Regions from separate parts of the Homo sapiens genome. Here region 1 is linked to region 2. Evidence: promoter capture Hi-C in 16 types of primary human blood cells and fetal thymus (Javierre and others, 2016). All regions are on one chromosome and are shown on one strand. Each heading gives the region's core, a stretch centred on a gene start or on the middle of the fragment in contact. The rest is flanking DNA. Distances are from core to core; before and after follow the strand shown.

Region 1 (6,151 bases), core at 1,217-3,716, 120 kb after region 2:
TTTCTATTTCTTCTTGTGCTAGTATTGGTAATTTGTGTCTTGGTAGGAATTTATCTATTTAAGTTATATAATTTGTTGGCATATACTTGTTTATAGGTTTCCTTATGATACTATTAATTTATATAAGTTTGTTTGTGTTATCTTCTCTTTCAGTCCTAATGTTACTAATTTATGTCTTCCTTTTTTGTTGGTCATTCTAGCCAAAGGCTTGTCAATTTGTTGATCAGATTTAAGAAATAACTTTTGGTTTTGTTATTTTCTATTTAGTTTATTTGAAGTCTAATGTTCATTTTTTCTTTCCTTCTGTTTGCTTTTGGTTTAGTTTGCTCTTCTTTTCCTACTTTATTAAGGTTAAAGGTTGGGTTACTGATTTGAGAACTTTTTTAGCATTTTATAGAAATTATTTTCCTTCCAAACACGCTTAAGGTGCATCACATAAGTTTGGTATGTTTTTTTATTTTCATTCATCTCAACATCTTTTCTAATTTCCCTTTTGATTTATTCTAAAACCCACTGGTTGTTTAGGAGCACATTAATTTCCACATATTTTTGAATTTACAAATTTTCCTTTTACTACTGATTTCTAATCTCACTCTACTGTGGTTGAAGGACATATGTATATAATTTCAATAATTCTAAGTTTATTGTGGGTTATTTTAAGGCCTTGCTTATATACTCTCCTAGAGAATGTTTCATACATGCACTTAGGAAGAGTGTATATTCTTCTATTGTGCTGTAAATTGATTTACAGATATGTGTTAAGTTTAGTTGGTTTATATTATTATTATTCAAGTTTTCTATACCTCCGTTCTTTTGCCTAGATATTTTATTCATTATTCAATGTGTGATATTGGAATTCTCAACTATTTTTTTAAATCATATATTTATTTCTTCAATTATGTCATTTCTTTTGCCTCATGTATTTTGGGATTCTTCTGTTATATGCATGCACATTTATAATTGTTATATTTTCCCAATGGATTGATATTTTATCATTATAAAATATCTCTTTTTATCGCTATCAACATTTTTGACCAAAAAACTATTTTGTCTGATATTAGCATAGCCCCTCCAGATCTCTTATGGCTGTTTTCGCACAACATCGGTTTCCGCCTTTTTAGTTTCAACCTATTTGTATCTTTGAAAGCAAAGTATGTCTTTTGTAGACACCATAAGTAGGATTGGATCTTGTTTTTCTATCAGACAATCTCTGCCTTTTGATTGGATAGTTTAATTGATTCACATTTAATATTATTATTGATATGCTTTGATTTATGTTTACAATTGTGCTTTTGGTTTCTATATATTTTGTGTCTTTTGTGTTCCTCTAGTCCTTTTTTCTGTCTTATATTAAGTAGTTATTTTCTAGAGTAACTTTTTCATTTCTTTAATGGTTTTCACTACATTTTTTAGCAATTTTCCTGGTTGTTGCTTTGACTTATGGATTATATGTCAAGTTAAACTACTTCAAATAATTCCAATAAGATAGAAAATCTTAGTTCCTTTATAGCTTCTGTACCTCCCACCCCCTTTGCGATATTGTATATACTACATCTATTCATATTACAAAAAACAATATAGTATTACAATTATTGCTTTACATAATTGTGTGTCTTTTAAAGAAGGTAAGAGAATAAAGGAGAAAAAAATATATTTATACCATTTTTATATTAACCTTATTTACCATTTCTGTCTTTGTGTATTTCTCCTGATGAAGTCAGGTTATTGTGTGGTGATATCTCTTTACTCCAATATATTTCATGTCTGACCTCCTTTTTTGTTCTGTTATTGTCAAATATATTGTATTTCTATATGTAATATGTCAAGTATATAATTTTATAGATTTTTATGCAATATGTTCTTTTTTTTTTTTTTTTGACGGAGTCTCACTCTGTCACCAGGCTGGAGTGCAGTGGTGCAATCTCGGCTTACTGCAACCTCCACTTCCCAGGTTCAAGCAATTCTCCTGCCTCAGCCTCCCGAATAGCTGGGACTACAGGCAAGCGTCACCACGCCCAGCTAATTTTTGTATTTTAAGTAGAGACAGGGTTTCACCATGTTGGCCAGGATGGTCTTGATCTCCTGACCTCGTGATCTGCCTGCCTCGGCCTCCCAAAGTGCTGAGATTACAGGCATGAACCACCACGCCTGGCCGCGATATGTTCTTAACTCAGTTTACAAACAAGGAATGATACAATCTTTTATACTTATCTACATAATTATTTTTAATAGGATTCTTTGTTTTGATGTTTAGATTTAAATTATTCTATAGTGTCCCTTTCTTTCAGCCTGAAGAACTTTCTCTAGTATTTCCTGTGAATAGGAAATACTAGCAGCACAGCTCTGCTAGTATGTTAGTTTCCTATGGCTTCTGTAACAAATTATCACAAACTTAGTGGCTTAAAACAACACAAATGTATTATCTTATTGTTCTGGAAGTCAGAAGTCCATTCATCTTACTATGCCAAAATCAAAATGTTAGTAGGGCTGTACTGTCTTTGGAGGCTCTACAGGAAAACTTGCTTTGTTGCCTTTCCAGCTTCGAAACATCACCTGCATTCCTTGGCTCATGACCCCTTCTAACCTTCCTCAAGTCCATCACTCCAACCTCTGTAATCATAGGTTACTGGGATTAGGACATGGACATCTTTGGTGGACCATATTCTGTCTACCACAGATGGCAATGAAATTATCTCAGCTTTTTTGTTGTTGTTTTTCAGGGTATGTATTTTGCCTTCACTTTTGAAAAATAATTTTGTTGTATATAAGACTATTAGTTGCTTTTTTTCCTTAAACACTTTGAATATGTCATTCCACTGCCTTCTGTCTTCCATGATTTGTGATGAAAAGTCACCTATTATTCTTATTGCAGGATACCTTATATATGATCTTCTTCTCTTGCAAATATCAAGAGTTTATCATGTGTCCCATATTTCTCTGATGCTCTTTTATCTTTATTCTTGTTTCTGTCTGTTCTTCAGATTGCAAAATCTATTGTTATATCTTTAAGTTTACTGATTCTTTCTTCTGCCAGCTCTGATCTGCTGTTGAGCACCTCTTGTGAGTTTTTATTTAAGTGTACTTTTTTAGTTTAAAAAAAAAAAAAGGATGCTGGTGAGGTGGTGGAGAAAAAGGAATGCTTATACACTGTTGGTGGGAGTGTAAATCAGTTCAACCATTGTGGAAATTCCTCAGAGACCTAAAGACAGAAATACCATTTGACCCAGCAATCCCATTACTGGGTATATACCCAAAGGAATATAAATTATTCTATTATAAAGACACATGCACATGTATGTTCATTGCAGCATTGTTCACAATAGCAAAGACATGGAATCAACCTAAATGCCCATCAATGATAGACTGGATAAAGAAAATGTGGTACATATATACCATGGAATACTATGCATCCAGTATAAAGAACGAGATCATGTCCCTTGCAGGGACATGGATGGAACTGGAGACCATTATTCTTGGCAATCCAAAACAGGAACAGAAGACCAAATACCACGTGTTCTCACTTATAAGTGGGAGCTAAATGATGAAAACACATGGACACATAGAGGGGAACAACACACAGAGGGGCCTATTGGAGGGTAGACGATGGAGGGTGGAAGAAGGGAGAGGATCAGGAAAAATAACAAATGGGTACTAGGCTTAATAGCTGGGTGATAAAATAATCTGTAAAACAAACCCCCAGGACACAAGTTTACCTATGTAACAAACCTGCACATGTACCCCTAAACTTTAAATAAAAGTTTAAAGAAATTCTCACTCCTTCAGGGATTATGTAAAGAGTTTTTGGCATTCATTTAAGAAATCAACAGTTGATCTAGTTATAAACCAATTGAAAGAAGTTGTAAAATAAGTTGATGATGGAATTCCATTGTATCAGGAGAATATCACCAATGCTTTTTACAAATGCCTTTATGCAGCCATGATGCAAAATGAAATCAATAAAATATCAATTATTGCAAAGTTAAAAATAGTGTACTTTTTGACTAATTTTTGACCAAAAAGAAAACTCTGTTAAATATTTCAATAAGTTTATTCTGAGCCAATGTGTCACCATGGCCCAGGGAACAGTCTCAGGAGGTCCTGAGAAAGTACACCTGAGGCAGTCAGGTTATGGTTTGGTTTTATACATTTTAGAGAGACAGAAGTTACAGGCAAAGACATAAGGTATACATTGGTTTAGCCCAGAAAAGCAGGACATCTCAAACTGAGGGGGACAGCTTACAGGTCATAAATGGATTCAAAGATTTTCTGATCGGCAGTTGGTTGAAAGAGTTAAGCTGAAGACTTGACATCAGTAAAAAAAAAAAAAAAAGAAAAGAAAGAAATGATTGAGTTAAGATAAGGGGAGTTGTGGAAACCAAGGTTCTTATTATGTATATGAAGTCCCCAGGTAGCAGGCTTCAGAGGGAATAGATGGTAAATGTCTCTTTTCAAACCTTAAAATAGGTGTCAGACTCTTAATCTTTCCTAGATTCAGGAAAGGCCTAGCTGTATTAATGGGGATTCTCTACACATGCAAAATTTCCTCCACCAAAGATGGCTTTGCAGGGCCATTTCAAAACATGTCAAAAAAAAACATTTTAGGGTAAAATATTTTTATTTTCTTCAGGGTCTACTATCTTTCATGTGACGCTATACCAGAGTCAGGTTGATATTTGGTATCTTATTGCCAAAGAGTCTGTTCTGTCAGTCTTAATATCTCTATTTTATTAATTCTGGCCGGTTTTGCCTAAACTCCAAAAGGGAGGGGTTATAATGAGGCATGTCTGACCTCCCTTCCCATCATGGCCTGTAATTTAGTTTTTCAGGTTGCTCTGGGGTCCCCTTGGCCAAGAGGTTTATTTCTGGTTTAAACTTCAGATTGCAAAATCTGTTACATCTAAGTTTGCTGATTCTTCTGCCAGCTCAGATCTACTATTCAGCACCACTCGTGAGTTCATTTTAATACAGGAGTTATTGGCCGAGCATGGTGGCTCATGCCTGTAATCCCAGCACTTTGGGAGGCCAAGGCGGGCGGTTCACTTGAGGTCAGGAGTTCAAGACCAGCCTGGCCAACATGGTGAAACCCCATCTCTACTAAAAACACAAAAATTAGCTGGGTGTGGTGGCATGCATCTGTAATCCCAGCTACTAGGGAGACTGAGGCAGGAGAATTGACTGAACCTGGGAGGTGAAGGTTGCAGTGAGCCGAGATTGCACCACTGCACTCCAGTCTGGGCGACAGAGCAAAGCTCTGTCTCAAAAAAAAAAAAAAATACGGGTGTTATTAAGAAATAGTTTTAGGCAGATAGAGAGGGTTAAAGGAGTTCTCGGTAAGGCTTTTTCTTTTAATAGAAACAGCTCCTGAAACACTTCTTTTCTAACAGAAAGGCGACTTGCAAAAACCAGGCCAGCAAGCACTGACATGCGAATGCTGGTGATTAGAAACTAGGTCCAACCAATATGGCCATTCCCGCCCTCTTCTCCTTGTCACCACATGTGCCAAGTGTCATGGCCACCTCCAGATAACTCTGCATGTACAGGCTATCATGGCCGCCCACATTTGCATATTAAAAGACTATGGTGGGAGGGCCAGGTTTTTCACGGGCTACATAAATGACACACCTGGTCAAACCAATCCCCTGGGCCCTATGCAAATCAAACACCACCTCCTCTAGTCTCCCAATATAACCAAGTACTTTTCCGCCACACATGGGGTTTTCTCTTTCCGTTTGGAGCCCCCCTCCCTCTGTCTCTGTATGGTGGAGCTTCTTCCTTCTTTCCTGCCTATTAAACTCTCTACTCTTTAAAACCACTCCACGTGTGTCCATTTATCTACATCAGCGTGAGACCAAGGACCCTGGCGTTCCTACATTCATTGAGGTAGTATCATTTTGGTGTATTGGGCAAGAATTCATTTATCGGAGTGGTGAGTATGGAGTGAACCTCAACCTCAAATCTGTCCTTTAATCTCAAGGCTCTTTTCCTGCTATCCCGTCACCAAACTTTCCTTCTTTCTCTATCCAGGGTCTCTTACTGTCTCTGTGTGTCAAATGTGCAGGAATTTTTACAGTTCAGGGAAACAGGTCTGTTAGGAAAGATCAGCAGCTCTGGTGAGCTCATGGTATTTCTAAGCCAACATCACCACCTAGTG
Region 2 (5,895 bases), core at 27-2,526:
GGGAGGCCGAGGTGGGCGGATCGCGAGGTTAGGAGTTCAAGAGCAGCCTGACCAACATGGTGAAACCCGTCTCTTCTAAAGCTACAAAAATTAGCCAGGCGTGATGGCACCCGCCTGTAATCCCAGCTACTCAGGAGGCTGAGGCAGGAGGATCGCTTGAACCCAGGAGGCGAAGGTTGCAGTGAGCTAAGATCGTGCCACGGCACTCCAGCCTGGGCGACAGAGCGACAGAGTGAGACTCCATCTCAAAAAATAAAATAAAATAAAATTGTGAAATAGGACGGGATCTCCATGTGCATGGTTTCCCAAACACCAAGTGGTGCTTATCAAAGAGAAAGATAGAGAAGGGTGGAGTGTGTGGAGAATAGGAGAACGTCTCTGGGCTTTAACGCAGGACTACTAGATGGGTGGTGCTCTGGTCTTTAAGGTGTACTGCATCGAAGTGCAAATGGCTGCAACACGGAGGCGAGGAGTGTACCCATGAGGAAACTGAGGTGCAGGGAGGTCAGGCAGGTTGTGAACAGGGGTTTAAGAAAAGCGTTAAATTACTGGCTGCGCCAAGATGCTCTGCAAGGTGGGAACCTGTTGAAGAAATAAAACTGCATCATGTGACTCAGCAAAGATGCCCGGCTACTGTGCCAAGAATCCCGTGGGTTGTGCAGACAACACTAGGGCCCAGGTCCCATGAGTAAGCCAGAATGGTTGATAGTGGGGGAGGATGATGACGACGCTGCCTTTGCCCCTGTCTTGTGTGAAACAACTGCCTGTGGGTTTCCTGCAGCGCAGTGGGGAGTGAGAGGAGAAACGTCCTGCCGTGCCACAGTGAGTTTGGGTCAAAGGCACACATGGAGGCAGTCTTGGCCAAAGTCACAATGCGGTGAATTTCGCTGTGCGCCAAGGAGGTTCCTGGCCCCAGGAGTGCGAAGCGCCTGCGCAGTGGGCCCCAGGCGTTGCGCGCTGCGGGAGCCAGGAGACCCCCGCCCCTGGCCCCTCGCCCCGGTTCCTCGCCCCTCAGCCCACGCCCTCCCCTGCGAACGCGCACGTGAACGGGAGCGCGGACGCGCCCGAGAATGCGCTTCACCTCGCAGAAGCGGGTGGGCTCTGTGGAGAGTCGCGGGCTCGCGGGCAGCAGCGCCTCCTCCACTCCGGCGGGCCCGGGTTCGGCCGGCCGCCCATCGGACTGGCGGACTGGCTGACTGACACGCCTCGCTTGCCCCCGCCTCCGCCCGTGCCCCGCCCAGCTTCATCTCTCCCTCCGCTCCCCGGGCTCGGGGGCAGACGGCAGACGGAGGCGCCTCTCTCTCCCCGCCCCTCTCCTCGGCCCTTTCTCTTCCCAGCACCTCGGCTGCTGCCCGGCAGCGGCAGCAGCTGCGTCGGCGGCCCACACAGCAGCGAGAGGCGAGAGGAGGCTGCCTCGAGGATGAAGTGCAAACCCAACCAGACACGGACCTACGACCCCGAGGGGTTCAAGAAGCGGGCGGCGTGCCTGTGCTTCCGGAGCGAGCGCGAGGACGAGGTCCTGTTAGTGAGTAGCAGCCGGTACCCGGACCGCTGGATCGTGCCGGGCGGGGGCATGGAGCCCGAGGAGGAGCCGGGCGGTGCGGCGGTCCGAGAGGTGTACGAAGAGGCGGGAGTCAAGGGGAAGTTAGGCCGGCTCCTGGGCGTCTTCGAACAGAACCAGGACCCCAAGCACAGAACGTACGTGTATGTACTGACTGTCACGGAGCTGCTGGAGGATTGGGAAGATTCGGTTAGCATTGGGAGGAAGCGAGAGTGGTTCAAAGTCGAAGATGCCATCAAGGTTCTCCAGTGCCACAAGCCCGTGCACGCCGAATATCTGGAGAAACTAAAGCTGGGCGGTTCCCCAACCAATGGAAACTCCATGGCCCCATCCTCGCCAGATAGCGATCCCTAGTATGTACCGCTTGCGCCCGCACAGACTTCTGTTTGTCTGCCTTGCTTAAAATGCATCCCGCCTGGAGCACCTCTCGTACCATGTGCGGTCTCATGGGCAGGAGGGAGGCTTTTGTTTCCTTGGCAGACCCTCTGAATCACGCTTGCAAACTGTTGCCAGGCCCTGTTTTCAGTTGGCACGTTTTTCAGTTGCTTTCAAAATCGCTTCTTGGTTACCCTGTAAAATGTTTCGGAGAAGCCTATGCCGCTTGGGGTTTTAGGTGCTGTAACTGTTCACCCTGCTTTTGGGCGGGGGGGGGGGGGGTGGGGGGCGAGGGGTGGGCGGGGAGTGTGTGTGTCTGCCTGTGCGCCCTGTGATGTTTTTGGTTCTTTTATATTTCACACATATTCGTGGGTGCGTGCACATTTTTGATACCAGCCTTGTGGTTTGTTTGGTAGTGGAGGCCTTTAAAGTCTGACCAGCTTGGTTGTGTGGCATCTTTTAGTATTTTTTTCCCTTGAGTTGTTTTCTCCTTCACAGCGTTCGCCCTTGTTGTCAGGGAGGCCTTCTGTGGTGGGAGTTGGTTTAAAAAATCAGTTTTGAATTCGTAAAAACATTAGGAAATCCTACATCTTGTGCTCTTTCTGCACTCGACAGTCGCTCTAGCCTCTGAAGTGGTATCTCATTTGCCCCTTTCAGAAATTTCTTTTTCTATTTCTATGTAGGTCATTTGGTTTTCAAAAAATTTTCACAAGTAATTTTTCACTGCTGACTTTAAATCGCTATTTCCCATGTAGATTAACCTTACTGAATAGATGCTGCTGGGGATCTGCTAGCCAAACGCATCTGATCAGAAAAACTGTATTCACAGAATTTGATTTCCCATACTCAACTTCCAACTCCCATTGCCCCTTACTGGATACCATAGAAGAACCATGGTTCTCTGGATTTAAGTTTGTTTTTGAAAGAAAGTGGTTTCCATTCCATATTTGAATGTAGTGACATTCCGCTTAACCTCCCTGACTCCCAGTAACCACAGGAATGGAATCTTTTGTGGTGATTACATCCCAACAGAGTTAGCTCTAGCGATGTTCAGCTGGTACAGAATTGTCAAACTATTAGGATTCCTGAACAATCTCTCAATGATAGAGAGTAATTGTTTTGTCTCACAGTACCACCTTTTCTGGGTGCCAAATTAAAAGCTCTCACGTTTGCCTCAGTACTTGCTTGAAGTCAGGAATCCCATCTAGAATAGCTAAATCTCTCTTCTGGACCTTCCGCTGTTCCCCCAGCCATGTCTGACATTAGGTAGAAGGAAAACCTATTTTGTGAAGAGGGTATTCGAATGAAAAGATCATTCCTAATTTCTAGAGCAACCTAGACTATGTCATATCTCTTAAACATTATTGACAGGTATTGGGGTCCCTTAACTTTTTTTTTTGAGATGGAGTCTTGTTCTATGGGTCACTGTTACGCACTTTCTATTAAGAAATTTTGGGTTTCGCTATGTAAATTCTAGGTTCCTCTTCTGGATTTCATCTCCCATGACAGTTGAGGAAATGTCTAGTTTTTGAAGAGAGTATGGGTGGGGGCTGGGGGACCGGGCGCGGTGGCTCACGCCTGTAATCCCAGCACTTTGGAAGGCCGAGGCGGGCAGATAACGAGGTTAGGAGATCAAGATCAGCCTGGCCAGCATGGTGAAACCCCGTCTCTACTAAAAATACAAAAACTAGCTGGGCATCGTGGTGTGCGCCTGTAATCCCAGCTACTCGGGAGGCTGAGGTAGGAGAATCGCTTGATCCCGGGAGGCGGAGGTTGCAGCGAGCCGAGATCGTGCCACTGCACTCCAGCCTGGGCGACCGTCTCAAAAAAAAAAAAAAAAAAAAAAGACTGATTTTCCCCCTCGTCCCTGTCCCCCAATGGACAAGTGCCTACTTTTTCTTATTCTAAAAAAAATTTGAAGACGACATGTTGGAGTAAAGGTAAGTTTGGTTGCTTGATACAGAATTTGCTCTGGATGGTTAACATATTTTCTAAGAAACCTATGTTCTGTTGATCAGGTCACCTTTGAAAGAAGTAACCCTGAAAGGGGTGAAAGGTGGCCATAAATATTTTTAAGTCCTGTAGAAAATTGATAAAAATTGAAGTGTGTATGTGTAAGAGCTTGTAAAGAAACAGCAACATTAGAGGGCCCTTGTGGGATAGATGGTTTAAAGGGCTCTGATGCTGGAGCTGCTCCTTGTCTCACTTGCCTTTAAGTGGAGTTCAATTGTAAGAAAAAGCATGTCCTCCCTCCATAGTTGTTGACTGGGAAAAGGGAGATTAGAGCTTACAGCACTAACAGCTGGCCAGAGTTTTATTTTTCAGAGTTCCTTTTGTGGAAGCATCAGTCAAAACAAATATTCTCAGCATCATTCTTGTATTGCAATCATCTTTCTGAATGACTGTTGGCCTATTAGAATATGGACTTTTTGAGGACTAGGACCCAGACTGAATCCTCCCCCATATCCTCAGAGCCTAGAACAGTGCCTGAAATTTGGAGACATTTGTCTTTGATCCACAGATTAGAAATGTCTACAAGTGTATTCCCGATTTCTGAGCTTCATAATGTACCTGGGACAATCTGTTATTCCCTCAGGCTCTCATCTGGCCTCACAGTGAAACTGCATTCGATAATTCACTGAAGGCTTTTCCAATTCAAAATGGTTGATGAGCCATAGTAGGTGCTCAATAAGTATTTGTTGATTAGAGGAATGGATGAACCAATAAAACCCTATTAATAAGAATTTTTCTTTTTAGGTGAATGGCATAGATGTTGTTCAGATTTACTTTGAAAGAATCAAGTATGTGAATGGATGGATGAATGGAATTGTGAAGCACAGATGAGCTCTTTCACACTCCAAGGACACAGCTCATCCTATGCTTTTGGACACTTCTTCCCTGTTTATTACAATGACTATTCTCCAGGTTGTTGCACTACCGCTGTATCTGTACATAATTCTAACTTGGCACCTGTGGCCTTTTTTGTGCTCTTATGTGTCTGTATTTCCCGGCAGAGTATACGCCCTTGAATGCCAGGAACTTGTTTCCTTAGTCTTTTTTATATATCTAGCATATAAGATATTGCTTAGAATATGGTAGACATCACTGAAGATTTGTTTCAGTAGTTCATATTTTGTAATGATACTGAATGGTTAAACAATCCCTTTCTAATCTGTCTAGCATATATGTGACTTTTGTTTATCAAGTGTCACACAACTGCTTCAAGGCAGCTGTGAGATACTAGAAAGCAAAAATTCTTACTCCTATGTCTGTGTCATCCCAGATGTGTGCCTCCAGATGGCAGTATACTACACTATCTGTAAAATATATTTGCAAAGCCAGGCACAGTGTTACGCGTCTGCCTCAGGAGGCTGAGGCAGAAGAATAGCTTGAGCCCAGGAGCTTTAGTCTAGCCTGAGCAATATAATGAGACTCCGTCTCTTAAAATATTTGCCCAAACATTGAACCTAAATTTGACCATGCCCCTAGAAATAATTCCTAATCTTTAGAAAATAGGGCAGAGAAACATTATTTTACACCATGGAGATGAGATCAGCAGAATCCAGACTATAAGAAACTACAGGACACATGACCTAGTTTCTTCTGTAAATAACTTGCAAGGATGAAAGATGGAGGATGAACCTATAGATTTAAAGAGACTTAAGAGACATATTAACCAATTGTTAATTGGATCTTATTTGAATTGTGATTTGACCGAACTGTAAAACGAATACATTTATGAGACAATCGGGGTAATTTGAACATTGGTGGGGTATTTGGTATTAGAATAATGGTTTTATCATTATGTTAGAAAGAAGGGTCCTCATCTACATTCTCAAACATCTGTGGCTGATATGATATGATTCTTGGAATTTGCTTCAAAATAATAAGTCTGGATGTTAAGTGCATTGGAAATATTGATGAAACGAAATTGGCCTTGATAATTGTTGAAGCTGGGT

The links. Contacts are between HindIII fragments. The CHiCAGO score rates a contact against its expected background, and 5 or more counts as called.
Region 1: a contact is called between a fragment that was not itself captured here and the fragment with the promoter of NUDT10 in region 2, in 3 of 17 cell types (naive CD4 T cells, non-activated CD4 T cells and fetal thymus). The highest score is 8.0, in naive CD4 T cells.

The regions. Positions count from the first base shown.
Region 1 is chrX:51,450,881-51,457,031 of GRCh38, forward strand. No RefSeq gene overlaps it. Among named protein-coding and RNA genes, the nearest start is that of NUDT11, 43 kb to the right of the region's middle. The HindIII fragment of the contact is 9,447 bases long and covers 1-6,151 here.
Region 2 is chrX:51,331,546-51,337,440 of GRCh38, forward strand. It overlaps NUDT10 (nudix hydrolase 10), which reads left to right and starts at 1,277. Exons shown (of 2, transcript NM_001304963.2): 1 at 1,277-1,914; 2 at 4,694-5,895. The coding sequence starts at 1,421. The coding sequence ends at 4,694. The region is part of intron 4 of LOC105373204 (a long non-coding RNA gene); the gene reads right to left. The HindIII fragment of the contact is 9,034 bases long and covers 1-5,895 here.